Linked DNA regions of Homo sapiens: regions 1, 3, 4, 5 and 6 are each linked to region 2. The links are contacts of gene promoters, found by promoter capture Hi-C in blood cells and fetal thymus (Javierre and others, 2016). All regions are on one chromosome and are shown on one strand. Each heading gives the region's core, a stretch centred on a gene start or on the middle of the fragment in contact. The rest is flanking DNA. Distances are from core to core; before and after follow the strand shown. Region 1 overlaps BORCS5 (BLOC-1 related complex subunit 5). Region 2 holds the start of CREBL2 (cAMP responsive element binding protein like 2). Region 3 overlaps BORCS5 (BLOC-1 related complex subunit 5). Region 4 overlaps BORCS5 (BLOC-1 related complex subunit 5). Region 5 has its middle 19 kb from the start of MIR613. Region 6 overlaps BORCS5 (BLOC-1 related complex subunit 5).

Region 1 (2,700 bases), core at 26-2,525, 210 kb after region 2:
TAAGAAATAATAATGAGTAGTACCTAAACACTTTGGAAGTTTTCTGGGCACCAAGTATAAAACTATGTGGAAAGTTTTTCTATCCTACCAACGTTCACGTATACAACTTTCACTATGAAGACGTGATAAAGCTAAATTATACCTTAGAAGGAAACAAAGACTTTAAAACATGTTTGTTTTCATGTTAATTACAGTAGAAGCTAATAGAGAAATAAAGTTCAAATACTTCTGGAATTATTTTTAGGGAGACTTTTGTTTAAAAACAAGTTAAAGAACAATTGAAGGTGACAGGGAATCAAATTTGGACTTATGGGAAAAAGGGGAACTCAACTACTCAAAGATGTTCCATAACAGAGCAGATTTCCTTATATGACAACGAGCTGCTTCTGATCAGATGTTGAGCAAGTCAAGGTTAAAAGTCTACTTCAATGAGATATTCCACAAAAGACCCTCAATTCAGGAACTCTGCAGGAAGCAGAATATTGGATAAAACTCTTGAACACTACAACACACAACCAACTCTCTGGTGTCCACAGTAGGGCAGAATTTCCCTCTAATAATCATCCCTAATTAGAGAAGGGTCTCCAAATTCAGGTAAGAGACAAATTTGCCACTCAATTCAAATATGACAGAAGCTGAATTCACGAATCTCATGATCCTTAAGCATGTTGTTTTGCTCTCTCAACTCTTTTTTCTCCCTTGATGCCCTGCTTTTATCAGCTATCCAATCTAATTCCATGAATAGTTACTGGCTTCTAGAAATCTATCCCAAAGAAACAAACTCAGATGAAATTTATGCACCAAGATTTTGTACTCCAGTATCATTTTAATACCCAAAATGTCCTCCAATGGGAGAATGATTAAACTATATTTATATTTACAAAAAGAAATGTTATCCAGCTGTTTACACTTTTTTTTTTTTTTTTTTTGAGACGGAGTCTCGCTCTGTAGCCCAGGCTGAAGTGCAGTGGCGCCATCTTGGCTCACTGCAAGCTCCGCCTCCCGGGTTCACGCCATTCTCCTGCCTCAGCCTCCTGAGTAGCTGGGACTACAGGCGCCCACCACCAAGCCCAGCTAATTTTTTTGTATTTTTTTTTTTTAGTAGAGACAGGGTTTCACCATGTTAACCAGGATGGTCTCGATCTTCTGACCTCGTGATCCGCCCGCCTTGGCCTCCCAAAGTGCTGGGATTACAGGCGTGAACCACCGCTCCTGGCCTTAGATGATGTTTTCAAACAATATCCAATGACATGGGAAATGCCACAATAGAATTTTAAGTAAAATTGTGATATAAAATGACAAATTTTAATTATAAAGTAAATGTATACTTTACATAGGTCTACACTAGAAGGAAAAATATAGCAAGTTATTAACAATGGCTATGTCTAGGTAGAATTTTTAATTTTCTTTTTTGTCATTTTGTTTTCCAAGTTCCTTAAAATAATCATATATTCATTTCGTGATCAGAAAAAAAATTATTAAAAAAATAAATATGGCAAAAAAGCTATGTTATAGTTATCTTGGATTTGTAACTCAGAAATCAAAACAATTCTTTTAAAAGGAAGAAGCATGGTATAAGAAAATTAAGTTTGCATCTGACCCTATGTTTGAGATGGTTGCTAAGCACGATGTTGTCTTTAAATTAATCAATAAGCAAGGAACAGCTGGGACAATATCCGGTTTTACTGAGGATGTGGAACAACAGGAACTCTAATATATAGCTAGTAAGGCGATAAAAGAGCATAACTACTTTGAAGAGTAAATTGACTGTATCTAGTAAAGCTGAAAATACATGTGCCCTACTAGACAGCAATTTGTTCCTAGTTACATACCCTAGAGAAAACTCTCATACATGTGCAAAAGGAGACATGTACAAAGATGTCCACTGCAAAACTGTTTAATAGTAAAACAACTGGAAACAACTCAAATATTCACTAATAAGTCAATGGATACACTGTGAAATATTCATTTGATGGAATACTACGCAGCAGTGAAAATAAGTGAGACATATATCAACATGGATAAATCTCAAAATTATAAGGAAAAGAAAAAAGAAAGTTACACAAGTAGCTGAAGGATACATATAGAACACAACTTATATAAAGTCAAAACAAGTGAAAGAATATTCTACACCGCTTAGATATACAAAAACATGTAGGAAAAAGACAAGCCACGAAGAAAACACATGGGCATGATGAATGCCAAAATCAGATCAATAATTCCCTGTGGAGTGGGAGGAGGAGGGAATATCAGGGAAGGATATAAAGGATGGGGAGGGGGCGTTGTTTATTTGAAACGTGTATTTTTCTTCCTGCAGGGAAAGAGATCTGAAGCAAACATGGCAAAATATTAAAATATGACAAATTTGATGAATACACAGGTGTTTGCTATTTTTTTTTTTTTTTCTGTATGCTGACATACTGCAAATGAAAAAGAAATTCTAGGTAGCAGCTGATAATCTCTATGGAGGACAAGGCATCCTATCCACAGCAGTTTCTTAAACCCTGCTGGGTCTAAGGCCCCTCTGCAAAGCTGATGGAATCTATGGCTCCACTTCCCATGGGGTTTATTATGCTACCACCACTCCACCCTTGGTCACCTCAGGAGACATTCAGGAAAACCCATGCCCACTCTTTTGTCATGTGGTTGACCGAGGTAATTTCAACTCTTGCTAAGAGTTACCAAGGCCAGACAATTAGA
Region 2 (2,700 bases), core at 141-2,640:
AACCTGAAACATCAATAAACAAATCTTTGACCATCCCTATCTTCAGGAAATAAAACTAAACAACACTAATGTGGGTAGATGTAAAGAGAGAAAGGCGGCCAGGCGCGGTGGCTCACGCCTGTAATCCCAGCACTTTGGGAGGCCGAGGCGAGCGGACACCTAAGATTGGGAGTTCGAGACCAGCCTGACCAACATGGAGAAACCCCATCTCTACCAAAAATACAAAATTAGCCGGGCATGGTGGTGCATGCCTGTAATCCCAGCTGCTCGGGAGGCTGAGGCAGGAGAATCGCTTGAACCCGGGAGGCGGAGGTTGTGGTGAGCCGAGATCGCGCCATTGCACTCCAGCCTGGGCGACAAGAGCGAAACTCCGTCTCAATTAATAAATAAAGACAAAAAGGCTATACATAGATAAACTATTTGGATTAACCAATAATGAACATTATCTATTATTTTATAATCATAAAGTAAGTGATTTGGACAGGGAAATTGGATGGTGATGGGCTATTAAAGTTAACAAGAGGAAAATCAGTATTTTTTTAGAGAAGGCTTTCTAGTGGAGGTTAAACTCCACACTGGCCAAATAGCAACAGGAGCTTAGCGGTGTTCCAACCAACCACAGGAAATAGCTCAGAGGGGGAGTGAACTGATTATATGAATGGGGCATTGAGTAAGGGAGCCTGAGAGAAGGGGAATCGTCAAGGGGAATAAGGCTGGTTCAGCGTGCACTAAAGTCTCCAAACTGGAGAGAGGAGGCAGCAAAAAAGTGCAAGAAGAAAAAGTACAGTAGTTTCTTATCTCGACAGGCAAGTTAAGGACTAGGGGTTGCACTACCTGGAAAGCTAGCAAACGCCCTGGGAGTGAAAAATTTCCAGAGAGGGCCCTTCCTGGAAAAACGCAGCCCCGGTGTTCCCTGATTTCCTGGCTGGGTACCATCGGGCAGTGGACTGGAGAGGCGCAGGGATGTTTTAGGCAGGTGTCTCTTGGGTGTTGGCGTGGACTACATAGCGGAGGTTCAGCCGCGGGACTAGCATTGAGCGACAAGAAGGCGGCGGCGCGTGCAAACCACAAGACTTACCTTACTGTCATCCATCGCGGCAGACAGGCCGGCCTGGCCAGGCACTCCCTCCCGGAGCCCTCCCCCGGCTCAGCCGGCCTGGCCCGGCCCCCGCCCCGAGGAAGAAGGGGATATGGTTCTGGCTGCCTCCTCCTCTCGCCTAACAGTTCGCTTCCCTGATGCCAGAGTCACGGGGACGAGGGACCAGTTCAGGAATGGCAGAGCGGACCCTGGAGGCGGCCCCAAACGCCTCCCTTCGCCGCCGCCGCCTCCTCCTCCCCCTCCATGACAGTCTCTGGGTGTTTACAGACGCTCTGGAGAGCCGCCGAGACCGGAGGGTGGGCGGGAGCGCTGCACACGGAATGGCCCCTTCGGCTGCCGTAGCACCGCGGCATTCTGGGAATTGTGATTTTTCTTATCACAGTCTCTGCGCTACTGACTGGAAAAAAAACTACGATGTCCACATAGCCTCATTAAGGGGCAGCTGTTTTCCTTTTGCCTACTAGCTAGCGCTGAGGAGGCGGGGCTGGGCTGGAGGCCCAAAGTGCGCCTGACCTGAGGTTTTGGCTCCTAAGTGCCAGGGCCTGGAATGGCGGGGACGGGAGTTTGGTGCTCTGCGGAGGCAGCCCTGAAGGCGGGGTGCCGGAAGCAGGCCCTCCTCTGGGACGCTGAGGAAACCCTAAAGGTTCTTTATTTAAAAAAAAACGAAAAACAAAAACTAAGTATGTAAAATAGTGCAGCTACTTTGGGAAGAAATTTGGCAGTTCTTCAGAATATTGGCCACTCCCATACCCAAGAGAAATTAAAACGAGTGACTACACAAAAACTTGTATATAAATGTTCTTTCCTAGCAGCATTATTCATAATAGTCAAAAAGTGGAAACAACGCAAATGTCCTTTACTGGATGAATGGATAAACCAGTGTGGACTATACAAATTAAGAAATACTGGCCAGGGGTGGTGGGTCACGCCTGTAATCCCAGCACGTTGGGAGGCCGAGGCGGGAGGATTGCTTTAGCCCAAGAGTTCGAGACCAGCCTGGGCAACATAGCAAAACCTGTCTCTACAAAAAAATACAAAAATTAGTCGAGTGTGGTGGCACATGCCTGTAATCCCAGTTACTGGGGAGGCTGACATGAGAGGATCACTTGGGCCTGGGAGGCAGAGGCTGCAATAAGCCAAGATTGTACCACTGCACTCCAGCCTGGGCGACAGAGCCAGACACTGTATTTAAAAAAAAAAAAAAGAAGAAGAAGAATGAAAGAAGGAAGAAGAACGATGAAGGAAGAAGAAGGAGAAGAAGGAAGAAGAAAGAAGAAGGAAGAAGACCCATATAGTAAGATGCAGTCTCTACAAAAAAAATTAAAAATTAGTTGGGTGTGTTACAAAAAATTTAAAAATTACTTGGGTGTGGTGGTGGTGCTTGTAGTCCTAGCCACTCGGGAGGCCCAGGTGGGAGGATCGTTTGAGCCCTGGAGTTGGAGGCTGAAGTGAGCTGTGATCACGGCACTCCAGCCTGGGCAACAGAGCAAGACTCTGTCTCAAAAAAAAAGGAAAGAAATATTATTCAGCAATGAAAAAAAATGAAGGGATATACACACTTCAATATGTCTGAACCTTGAAAACTTTATGTGAAGTGAAAA
Region 3 (2,700 bases), core at 197-2,696, 170 kb after region 2:
TAAGTTCCCTCACTTGTCAACACATAGCATTATGTTACTTCCTCATCTTTCCAACCAAATTTCCAGGAAACATCTGGAATAATATCAGAGAGTTGGTGTTTGATCAAAATGACATCCTCTGCTTTACTCATTTGGAAGTGACTAATTTCAACCCTTAGGTCTGAGGTGAACATAGACGGACGGATATGATTCAGGAGTTTGCTAACACTCACCAACAGAGATAAGACGGACACATTACGCCACCAATGAAAGCCCCAAAACTGCACTCACCTCCTCTGCCCGAGCACGCTGCTGAGGTATTGCTCAGTACTGTGAGTGCTGGTCTCTGTTTTGCAATAATCCTGGGTAATTACTGACTATTCAAAGTGAATCCCAAAGTTCTTCAAACAGAATTTTAAACTGTTTATTTTATTTTTTGAGACAGGGTCTTGCTCTGTAGCCCAGACTGGAGTGGAGATCTCGGCTCACCGCAACCTCTGCCTCCTGAGCTCAAACCATCTTCTCACCTCCCAAGTAGCTGGGACTACAGGCACGCACCACCATGCCTGTTTGTTTTTTTTCTTGGTCTTTTTTGTAGAGATGGGGTTTCACCATGTTGCCCAGGCTGGTCTTGAACTCCTGGGCTCAAACAATCCACCTGCCTTGGCCTCCGAAAGTGCTGGGATTACAGGCATGAGCCATGTCGCCCGCCAAAGTCAGTTTATTTTTAAATGAATGCTCCAAAACACTGGTTCTCCCCTGGTTACATACTAGAATCACCTAGAGCACCTTCATAAATACCAATACCCAACATCCCACCGCCCTAACCCTATCACCCTTCAAAGATTTTGATCTAATCGGTTCGGAGTGAGACCCAGACATCAGAATTTTCTTAACAGCACCTCAGCTATGCTGAATGAATTAAGGTATCATTGTTAAATATTTTAGGTATAACAGCATTATAACTACATCTTTCAAAACGACTCAGTCATTCATTCGTGGAATTACTGGTAAAATTCAAAATAAGGCCTCCATTTAATTGCTAGTATTGTACCAAGCTAATTTCCTGGTTTTGATCATTGTACGAAGGTTATGTAAAGTGTTAACTTTAGGGGAAGCTGCATGGGGCAGGGTATATAGGTACTCTCAAATTATTTCTGTGACTTTCCTCCAAGTCTAAAATTAATTCAAATTTAAAAGTTATTTTTTAAAAGAATCCTTCACTTTTAAAGATATATACTTAAATATTTATGAATGAAATAATGTCTGGGGATTTACTATAAAATATACAGTTGAGGGTGGCAGGGAGTGGGGATATGGATAAAACAGGAGTATTTGCAAGCTGATGATTGTAGTGGCTGGTAATGAGTACATTAAGGTTCACTGTGTTACTCCGCCTTCTTTTACCCTGTCTTCTTCAGTATATGTGTAAAATTTCCCATCATATATATTGGAGGAAAAAACTTCCGAGTAATTTTAACATGTAACCAGGGCTGACAAACACTGCTCTGAAGTCTTGAAAATGTGCTATAATGAGAAGCTCTGTCTGGTACTTCCAGCTACAAAACACTTTCCCCAGCTCTCTGATATAGAGCTAGTCAGTTAATCTCTCCGTACCACACTTTACTAAACTGCAAAACAACAGATATGGATTAGAGGTTTTTGTTGTTGTTTTTCGTTTTTTTTTTTTTTTTTTTTGAGATGAAATCTGGCTCTGTCGCCCTGGTTGGAGTGCAGTGACATGATCTGGGCTCACTGTAACCTCCACCTCCCAGGTTCAAGCGATTCTTGTGCCTCAGCCTCCCGAGGAGCTGGGACTACAGGCATGCACCATCACACCTGGCTAATTTTTGTATTTTTAGTAGAGATGGAGTTTCACCATGTTGGCCAGGCTGGTCTTGAACTTAAAGGACTTTTTAAAAAGAATAAGCATCAAAAAGCCAATTTATTATAATTCTAAGATCTCCTCTCTGAGAGTTAATGTCATAGTTAATTAACTTCTAGCACAACTGTAAAAAATGGTAGAGTCTGGCTAGGGGCAGTGGCTCACACCTGTAATCCCAGTGCTTTGGGAGGCAGAGGCGGGAGGATCGCTTGAGCTGAGGAGTTTGAAAACATCCTAGGCAACATAGCCAGGCGTGATGGCATACACCTGTAGTCCTAAGCTACTCAGGAAGCTGAGGTTGGAGAATCGCTTCTGCCCAGCAGTTAGAGGTTGCAACGAGCTATGAATGTTATCACTAAACTCCAGCCTCGGTGACAGCATAAGACTCTGTTTCTAAAAAAATTAAAAAGGTAAAGTCTTATGTCTACAATAGCATTTCCCAAAGAATGTTCTAAAATCACTACTTTATGGGACATTAATAAATGTTACCTAAGATAAGTGTTCTGAGGTCAACTAAGTTTCAAAAGTCTGGCTTTCTTTATTGTGAGACTCCTAAGAACTTTAAGTGAGATAATACGCTTTGTGACTTTCCAAGGGGTGGTGAGGGAATATGCAAATCGTTTGACCTCTTTATATGGGACTAGTTTTGTAGAACTTATTTTAGAAATAGTGCTTAAGACCACTGGTTCCCAAATCCTGGGTAATAGAGGGTGGCATTGTATCATTTGGTAAACTTATGTATTAGTCTGTTCTCACATTGCTAATAAAGACATATCCAAGACTGGGTAATTTATAAAGGAAAGAGGTTTAGTTGACTCACAGTTCCACATGGCTGG
Region 4 (2,700 bases), core at 94-2,593, 230 kb after region 2:
CCCTATCTCTACTAAAAATACAAAAATTAGACAGGCATGCTGGCACGCGCCTGTAATCCCAGCTACTTGGGAGGCTGAGGCAGGAAAATCACTTGAACCCAGGAGGCAGAGGTTGCAGGAAACTGAGATCGCGCCACTGCACTTCAGCAGCCTGTCGAGCAAGACTTTGTCTCAAAAAAAAAAAAAAAAAAGATATATACCATCATAGAACCATAAGAAAGACAGAATAGTGATATCATTTGGATACTTGTCCCCTCCAAATCTCATGTTAAAATGTGGCCCCTAATGTTGGAGGTGGGGTCTAGTGGGAGATGTATGAGTCATAAGAGCAGATCCCTCAAGAATGGCTTGGTGCCTCCCTGTAGTACCGAGCAAGTCTCCCTCTATTAGTTTATGGGAGAACTGGTTGTTTAAAGGAGTGTGGCACCTCCCCCACCTCTGTCTCCCTCTCTTACCATGTGACATGCCTGCTCCTCCTTCACCTTCCTCCATGATTGAAAGTTTTCTGAGGTCCTTACCAGAAGCAGATGCTGGTGCCACACTTCTTATACAGCTTGCAGAACTGTGAGCCAAATAAACCTCTCTTCTTTATAAATTACCCAGCCTCGGGTATTCCTTTATAGCAACTCAAAGTGGACTAACACAAATGGCTCTATTAATATTAGATAAAATAGAAATAAAGACAGAGAGTAATATTAGAGAACGGTGTTTCATAATGATGAAAGTTGTTACATCATGAAGATATAATAATTCTAAATGTATCCACACCAGCAACATATCCTCAAAACAAATGAAGGAAAAACTGACAGAATCAAAAGGAAAAATACACAATTCAACAAAACAGGTTAATAATTCAGTACCTCACTCTCAATTGATAAAACTAAAGACAAAATCAGTAAGAATATACAAAACTCAAAAAACACTATCAACCAACATAACTGACATATATAAAACTCTCTACCCAATGACTGCAGACTATATAGTCTTTAAAAGCACATATGGTTTATACCTTTCACAAAAATTAAGTCAAAATGGATCGCAGACCTAAATGTAAAATGCAAAACTATGAAAGTCCTAAGCAGTAATACAAGAGAAAATCTAGGTAAGCATGGATTTGGTGATGACTTTTTAGATACAACACCAAAGTACAATCCACGAAATTAAAAATGGGACAGATCAATGGAACAGACCTAAGAGTCCAGAAATAAACCCTTACATTTATGGTCATTTTTTAAAGGTGCTGAGATAATTCAATAAGGGAAAACACAATCTTTTCAACATATGGTACAGGGTCAACTGGATACCACAAGCAAACAAACAAAGCAAAATGAACTTAGACCTTTACACAACACACACAAAGTAATCCAAAAAGGATCACAGGCCTAAATGCAATCACTAAAACTATAAAACTTCTAGGAGAAATCTTTATTAAAAATATTGATACACTGAACTTCATCAAGATTAAAAAAGTTGTACTTCAAAAAATATCAGCCAGGTCAGAAGTTCCAGACCAGCCTGGCCAACATGGTGAAAGCCTGTCTCTACTAAAAACACAAAAATGAGCCAGGCACCCGTAATCCCAGCTACCTGGGAGGCTAAGGCAGGAGAACTGCTTGAACCCAGGAGGTGGAGTTTGCAGTGAGCTGAGATCGCGCCAGTGCACTCCAGCCTGGGCGACAGAGTGAGACTCGGTCTCAAAAAAAAAAAAAAAAAATCCCCCAAAAAATGAAAAGAAAGTCACAGTCTGGGAGAAAATACTGCAAATCATATATCTGATTAAGAGATTGTATCCAGAATAAAGAACTTGTTATAATACAATATAAGTTAAAAACCCAATTTAAAAATGGATAAGAGATTTGAACAGGTATTTCAAGCACACAAAAATAATCTCAACATCATTAGAGAAATGTAAATGTAAACCATAATGAGATACCACTACACAACCACTCTGATGGCTATAATCAGAAATAAAGAGAATACTGAATTCTCATACATTGCTGGAAGGAATGTAAAATGGTAATTTTGAAAAAAGTTTGGCAGTTTCGTAAAAGTAAACACAAAGTTACCATACAACCTACCAATTCCGTTCCTAAGAATCCACCCAAAAGAAATAAAAACACATTCACATGAACACATGGTCACAAAGGTTCATAGCAGCATTATTCATAACAGGCAAAAACTGGAAGTCAGACTCAAAAGAGTATGTATTGTATGATTCCATTTAGATGAAGTGTCCAGAAAAGCTGGCCTGTGGTTGCCTAGGACTGGAGACTGGGAGCAGAATTAACTGCAAACTGGAAATAATTTTGATATGGTCCTCATTCATCTCTTTTTATCTCTGATTAGATCAAGCCATCTTCCATATATAGGCACACCTCATTCTATTCCACTTCAAATTTTTTTTAAATTGTGCTTCACAGATACTGTGTTTTTTTTTACAAATTGAAGATTTGTGGCAGGGTGCTTACTTCATGTCTGTCACATTTTGGTAATTCTTGCAATATTTCAAACTTCCATTATTATGATATCTGTCATGGTGATCTGTGATCAGTGATCTTTGATGTCACTATTGTAATTGTTTTGGGCACCACAAACCACACCCATAGAAAACAGGAAACTTAAACTGAGAAGTGTTGCATGTGCTCTGACTGCTTCACGGACCAATCATTCCCCCGGCTATCACCCTCTCCTTGGACCTAC
Region 5 (2,700 bases), core at 96-2,595, 130 kb before region 2:
AAAATTAGAGCATGTTTTCCCATGTTTTCCAATAGTTTTTTAAAATTCTTTATGAAGACATCAGAGTTCATACACGTAGTCATGCACATGTTCACCATTTGGAGCAATATGTATGTATGTATTTATGTATTTATTTATTTATTTATTTGAGATGGAGTTTCACTCTTGTTGCCCAGGCTGGAGTGCAGTGGTGCGATCTCGGCTCACTGCAACCTCCGTCTCCCAGGTTCAAGCGATTCTCCTGCCTCAGCCTCCTGAGTAGCTGGGATTACAGGCATCTGCCACCACACGCAGCTAATGTTTGTATTTTATGTAGAGACAGGGTTTCACCATGTTGGCCAGGTTGGTCTCGAACTCCTGACCTCAGGTGACCCACCCGCCTCGGCTTCCCGAAGTGCTGGGATTACAGGCGTGAGCCACTGCACCCGGCCTGGAACAGGATTTAAGTAAAACCTTTTCTCAACTACAGAGACATACGTTTTAAGCCTTCTTGGATTCCCACCACCCTTCCTTTTGTTCTCTCTTGGTCACTCCTCACTTCCAGACTCGGATGAAATAGCCACACTGCAAGGCGTAAAATTAATTTCCTGAGTGATCACGGAGCTGCCAGATGACACCACATGGCATTCAGGGGATTTAGCTCTGCTAAGTAGTGTGAACCTCAGCCACAAAAAATGGAGACAGGAGGGAGCTGGCAGATAAATGCCCTCTTCCTGATCCCTTTCTCAGACTACTCTGGAGTGCAGCTTCTTCTTGCAACCTTTCTAGAGAATTCCAAGTACAGAGCAAGCATGCGGGCTGAAAGATCTGCTGTAGGCAAGACCACTTGGCATTTTCCTTGCCTTTTGCTTCCCTTTTTCCTCCCCCTTCCCACCTGAAACTATTTGTGCTATTCTGAGTCATCCTGCCCTTGCCTTGAGGCCAATCTCAGCACTTAATACACCTAATCTACCACAAATTCAACGTGTACTGGATGCTTAGAGAGGCAAAGAGAATGTTACACTACACGCAATATAGGAAGCTTTCCATTAAAATATTCTTTGGGTTTCTTTCTTTGCTCAAAAATTGTACAGCTCACTTATGTCTCCTTCCTCTTCTCTTCAGTCTTTTCTTTTCTGAGACAGTCTCGCTCTATTGCATAGGCTGGAGCGCAGTGGCACGATATTGGCCCACCGCAACTTCCACCTCCCTGATTCAACCGATTCTCCAGCCTCAGCCTCCAGAGTAGCTAGGATTACAAGCACCTGCCACCAGGCCCAGCTAGTTTTTGTATTTTTAGTAGAGTTTAGTGGCCAGGCTGGTCACGAACTCCTGACCTCAGGTGATCCACCCGCCTCAACTTCCCAAAGTACTGGGATTACAGGCGTGTGCCACCTCGCCCGGCCTTCTTCAGTCTTCTCCTTGTAAAATTCTCTTTCAAATATCTCCTCATTTTGTGTTGGGTAGAGCAATTTGGTCTTCTCTCTGCCTTTTAATTCTCCTCACAGCCAATCACCCTGCTTAATTCAACAAAGGCCCTCTAGGGAGATGAGTACACAAAGCATTCACTTTTTTTAGACAGGAAGGGAGGTATTGCCAGTACATTATTTTAATACATTTTTCCCTCTAACACACAGGCATAAAACAATAAATTCAAAGCAGGCCAGAAGTAGAGAGAAGAAAAAGCTTTGTCAGGGTGAAGCAAGTATGGGATCCAGGTAGGCACAAGTTCATAGTGATATTTGGTGAAGGGAAAGCAGATCGTGGCACAGGGATCTTGTTCTGTGATCTGCCCCATGAAGTCGGGCAGACAGACACTCTACATAAAACAGGTTCAGAATGAGGCCAAATCACCTGGCAAGAGGAGGCCAGGAGCCAGACAGACACTGAGCACAGGCAACAGGAAAGCAGCTTAATAGGCAATAAACCAAGTTCTAAGGCAGAGCACCCCGGAAATTTATAGTCAGGATCAGAACTGATCCCAGCGGCAGTGTCCAATTCCCATCTCTTAAGTGGACAAATAAATCACCTGCCTAGAGTTGAGAGCTGAGAAATCAGAAACCAAGCAGTTCTTTGTTTTTTGATATGGAGTGCAGTGGTGCGATCTCTGTTCACTGCAACCTCCGCCTCCCAGGTTCAAGCGATTCTCCTGCCTCAGCCTCCTGAGTAGCTGGGATTACAGGTGTGCACCACCAGGCCCAGTTAATTTTTGTAATTTTAGTAGAGATGGGGTTTCACCATGTTAGCCAGGCTGGTCTCGAACTCCTGACCTCAGGTGATCTGCCCACCTCAGCCGCCCACAGTGCTGGGATTACAGACCTGAGCCACCACAGCCAGCCATTTTTTTTTTTTTTTTTTAAGCAGGGTCTGGCTCTATTGCCCAGGCTGGAGTACAGTGGTGCCATCATAGCTCACTGCAGCCTTGATCTCCTAGGCTCAAGTGATCCTCCTGCCTCAGCCTCCCGAGTAGCTGGGACTACAGGTGCACACCGTTCCTTGCTAATTTTTTATTAGTAGAAACGCAGTCTTGCTATGTTCCCCAGGCTGGTCTCAAACTCCTGACCTCAAGTGATCCACCAGCCTCAGCCTCCCAAAGTGTTGGGATTACAGGCATGAGCCACCACGCCCAGCCATCATCAATTTAATATCTTGCAGTACTGTGTGCTAGAAGTCTAACATGGGTCTCACTGGGCTAAAAGCAAGGTGCCAGCAAGGCTGCAT
Region 6 (2,700 bases), core at 189-2,688, 160 kb after region 2:
TTTGTGATATCCAAATAGACACAACATATCTATTGTGAAGGCAGGAGCTTATGTGGACGCCTCATCTCGGTTACATTAACTATCTTCAAGGCTTACACAATCACTCAGATGACAACTTACCATTGTGTTTTTTGCTGACATGTTTTATTTTTGTTCTGTACTTCTGCTACTGAAAATCTTACAGCAGAGTCACATTACTCATCCCACAGTTTCCTGATAGAATCATTTCGCACTACGTAATAACTGAAATCATTATTTACCTACAAGTCCTTCCATGTGTTTTTAATCTATATGTTTAGCCATGAGAATAACTATTACCACTGTTTGATGCTATCCAATATGGTAAAAATAAAAATACATAGGCGTACATGCGTACATGTATATTTTTCAAAAAATATTTTGAAAGCAAAACCAAAAGCTTTAATAAATGATATCCTCTCCAACAAGAGAGTACGGTGCTTCAAAAACTTTTGTTATATAAATTTTCCTCATAAAATAAGCTTTGATGCTGGTTTGAGGCAGATGGGTCATCCTATGAAAGATGTCACTGTGGTTTGTTATTTGGAGACAGGGTCTCGCTCTGTTGCCCAGGCTGGAGTACAGTGGCCTGATCATAGCTCACGGGAGCCTTGAACTCCTGGGTCCGAGCAATCCTCCCATCTCAGCTTCCTGAGTAGCTGAGACTACAGGCACATGCCACCATGCCTGGCTAATTTTTATTTTTTGTGGAGATGGGGTCTCAAGATGATGCCCTGGCTGATCTCCAAACTCCTGGCCCAAGCCATCCACCCGCTCAGCCTCCCAAAGTGTTGGGATTACAGGCATGATCTACCACACCTGGCCTCACTATGCTTGATGTAGTTCTTTTCAAAGTAAAGGTAAATTTTCCAAATTAGTGACATACTACAAGGGCTTATTTTAAGTTAGAAAAGATGTGCAACATAACAGTAAGAACTTCATAAAGATAGTGTACAACTTTTAAATTCTAAAAACTTAAGATGTAGATATGCATGAAATGATCAAAAGCAAATTTAATAACCCTCATGGTCAAAAGAAAAATGAGTAGGTAAGCTGTGTTTCACAGTTAACAAAATTCACATCCATATGATCAATAGACTTATTTTTCTATCCCCAAAATACTTAAGTTTAAAAGAAATGTTAAAAACAAAAAAGACTGCATATGGACTTAATCAAGACTGCTTTTTTTTTTTTTTTTAAGACCGAGTCTCACTCTGTTGCCCATGCTGCAGTGCAGTGCCACAATCTCAGCTCATTGCAACCTCCACCTCCTGGGTTGAAGCAATTCTCCTGCCTCAGCCTCCCAAGTAGCTGGGATTACAGGTGTGTGCCACCACGCCTGGCTAATTTTTATATTTTTAGTAGAGACAGCGTTTCACCATGTAGGCCAGGTGGTCTCGAACTCCTAACCTCAGGTGATCTGCCCTCCTCGTCCTTCCAAAGTACTGGGATTACAGACGTAAGCCACTGTGCCCAGCTCAAGACGGCATTTAAAAAGTCACTCATCTTTCCCACCCTTTAAAGGTAATGTTTAGCTTTTAATGTGGTGTCTGTCAGTTAATGTTAGTCTCAAGGTCAATTTTTATTTGATCTCAATAGATATCTCACTTTCTCTGCACTCGTTCTACATTTAAATTCCTGTTCCCCAAGGATGTCAGTTTAGGAATATGGAGGCTGGGAGGAGGAGGCATGATGGATGGTTCAAGGTCAGCTAACCAAAGGCTGCCTCTTTTTAGGGTTCTAAATCCATTCCCAGCTTTGTTCTTTCTTTGGGTGGATTTCCTTCTGGGTTCAAAATGTAATGAGCAGGCAGTGATATGTAATTCTGCTCTTTTATTGTAAGTACTTTGTAGCTAAAGAGGCTAAATGGAAAAGTAACAATTCATCCTGTTTTACAGCTATTCAAATAATACATTCTGAAGTCAGTAACAATCTGTTATTTGAAGATGGGCATATTGCTGATTTTTAGCAATGTAAGCTCACCCTTCAAATCCCTGACATCACTAATAATTCATTACCATTAACAAAGTAAGTCAGAAGGCCTGAATTTAAATTCTACTAGTTGGTGAACTTGGGCAAATCACAAGCTGACTCTCAGCTTCTACTTTTTAAAAGTGGGGATAATAATGGCTAATATTCATCCTACCTCACGGCAGTGTTGTAATGGTTATAATGAGATAATATATGTAGGATGATCTGAAAACAGAACACTGCTATAAACATGTATGTTTATATTATTCTAACAATGAATGGCAAAGTATGCTTGGAAGTTCTGTTTTTCATGGTAGTAAAACTAAAAAGTTCCCAAATCATAATCACATTAAAAGAAAACTGCTACATATTTTATATAAAGCTTCAATATCCACCCTTCTCAGATGTTTCTGAAATTCAGAACTACCAATTCTCCCAATTAGGAAGCAGTCAGCCTAACTATATAAATCAGTACTGTCCCTAGGGCAAAATCTGGCCTTGGAATTATAACTGAAGCCATTTATCCAAAGAAGATATACAAATGGCCAGTAAACACAGGAAAAGATGTTCAACATCACTGGACATTAGAAAAGTGCAATCAAAAGCAGAAAGAATACAACTTCACACCCACTGGGATGGCTCAAATTAAAAGGCAGACAATGACAAATGTTAGTGAGGGTGTGAAGAAACTGGAACCCCTGTGCATTGCTG

The links. Contacts are between HindIII fragments. The CHiCAGO score rates a contact against its expected background, and 5 or more counts as called.
Region 1: a contact is called between a fragment that was not itself captured here and the fragment with the promoter of CREBL2 in region 2, in 13 of 17 cell types (M1 macrophages, total CD8 T cells, naive CD8 T cells and 10 more). The highest score is 11.0, in M1 macrophages.
Region 3: a contact is called between a fragment that was not itself captured here and the fragment with the promoter of CREBL2 in region 2, in 4 of 17 cell types (naive CD8 T cells, total CD8 T cells, activated CD4 T cells and 1 more). The highest score is 7.1, in naive CD8 T cells.
Region 4: a contact is called between a fragment that was not itself captured here and the fragment with the promoter of CREBL2 in region 2, in 15 of 17 cell types (total CD4 T cells, non-activated CD4 T cells, naive CD8 T cells and 12 more). The highest score is 13.9, in total CD4 T cells.
Region 5: a contact is called between a fragment that was not itself captured here and the fragment with the promoter of CREBL2 in region 2, in 2 of 17 cell types (total CD8 T cells and naive CD8 T cells). The highest score is 6.5, in total CD8 T cells.
Region 6: a contact is called between a fragment that was not itself captured here and the fragment with the promoter of CREBL2 in region 2, in 4 of 17 cell types (non-activated CD4 T cells, total CD8 T cells, naive CD8 T cells and 1 more). The highest score is 6.2, in non-activated CD4 T cells.

The regions. Positions count from the first base shown.
Region 1 is chr12:12,400,295-12,402,994 of GRCh38, reverse strand. All of the region lies in intron 2 of BORCS5 (BLOC-1 related complex subunit 5), which reads right to left. Among named protein-coding and RNA genes, the nearest start is that of BORCS5, 45 kb to the right of the region's middle. The HindIII fragment of the contact is 4,273 bases long and covers 1-2,700 here.
Region 2 is chr12:12,610,566-12,613,265 of GRCh38, reverse strand. CREBL2 (cAMP responsive element binding protein like 2) reads right to left here and starts at 1,390. Exons shown (of 4, transcript NM_001310.4): 1 at 1,079-1,390. The coding sequence starts at 1,093. RefSeq lists a silencer at 1,037-1,336 and enhancers at 1,497-1,546, 1,597-1,676, 1,270-2,021. The HindIII fragment of the contact is 19,687 bases long and covers 1-2,700 here.
Region 3 is chr12:12,437,338-12,440,037 of GRCh38, reverse strand. All of the region lies in intron 3 of BORCS5 (BLOC-1 related complex subunit 5), which reads right to left. Among named protein-coding and RNA genes, the nearest start is that of BORCS5, 82 kb to the right of the region's middle. RefSeq lists enhancers at 89-383, 1-862. The HindIII fragment of the contact is 3,287 bases long and covers 1-2,700 here.
Region 4 is chr12:12,380,026-12,382,725 of GRCh38, reverse strand. The region is part of intron 2 of BORCS5 (BLOC-1 related complex subunit 5); the gene reads right to left. Among named protein-coding and RNA genes, the nearest start is that of BORCS5, 24 kb to the right of the region's middle. RefSeq lists an enhancer at 1,237-1,531. The HindIII fragment of the contact is 7,704 bases long and covers 1-2,700 here.
Region 5 is chr12:12,743,945-12,746,644 of GRCh38, reverse strand. It overlaps a transcript of APOLD1 not described here. Among named protein-coding and RNA genes, the nearest start is that of MIR613, 19 kb to the left of the region's middle. The HindIII fragment of the contact is 644 bases long and covers 1,024-1,667 here.
Region 6 is chr12:12,454,295-12,456,994 of GRCh38, reverse strand. All of the region lies in intron 3 of BORCS5 (BLOC-1 related complex subunit 5), which reads right to left. Among named protein-coding and RNA genes, the nearest start is that of BORCS5, 99 kb to the right of the region's middle. The HindIII fragment of the contact is 1,871 bases long and covers 503-2,373 here.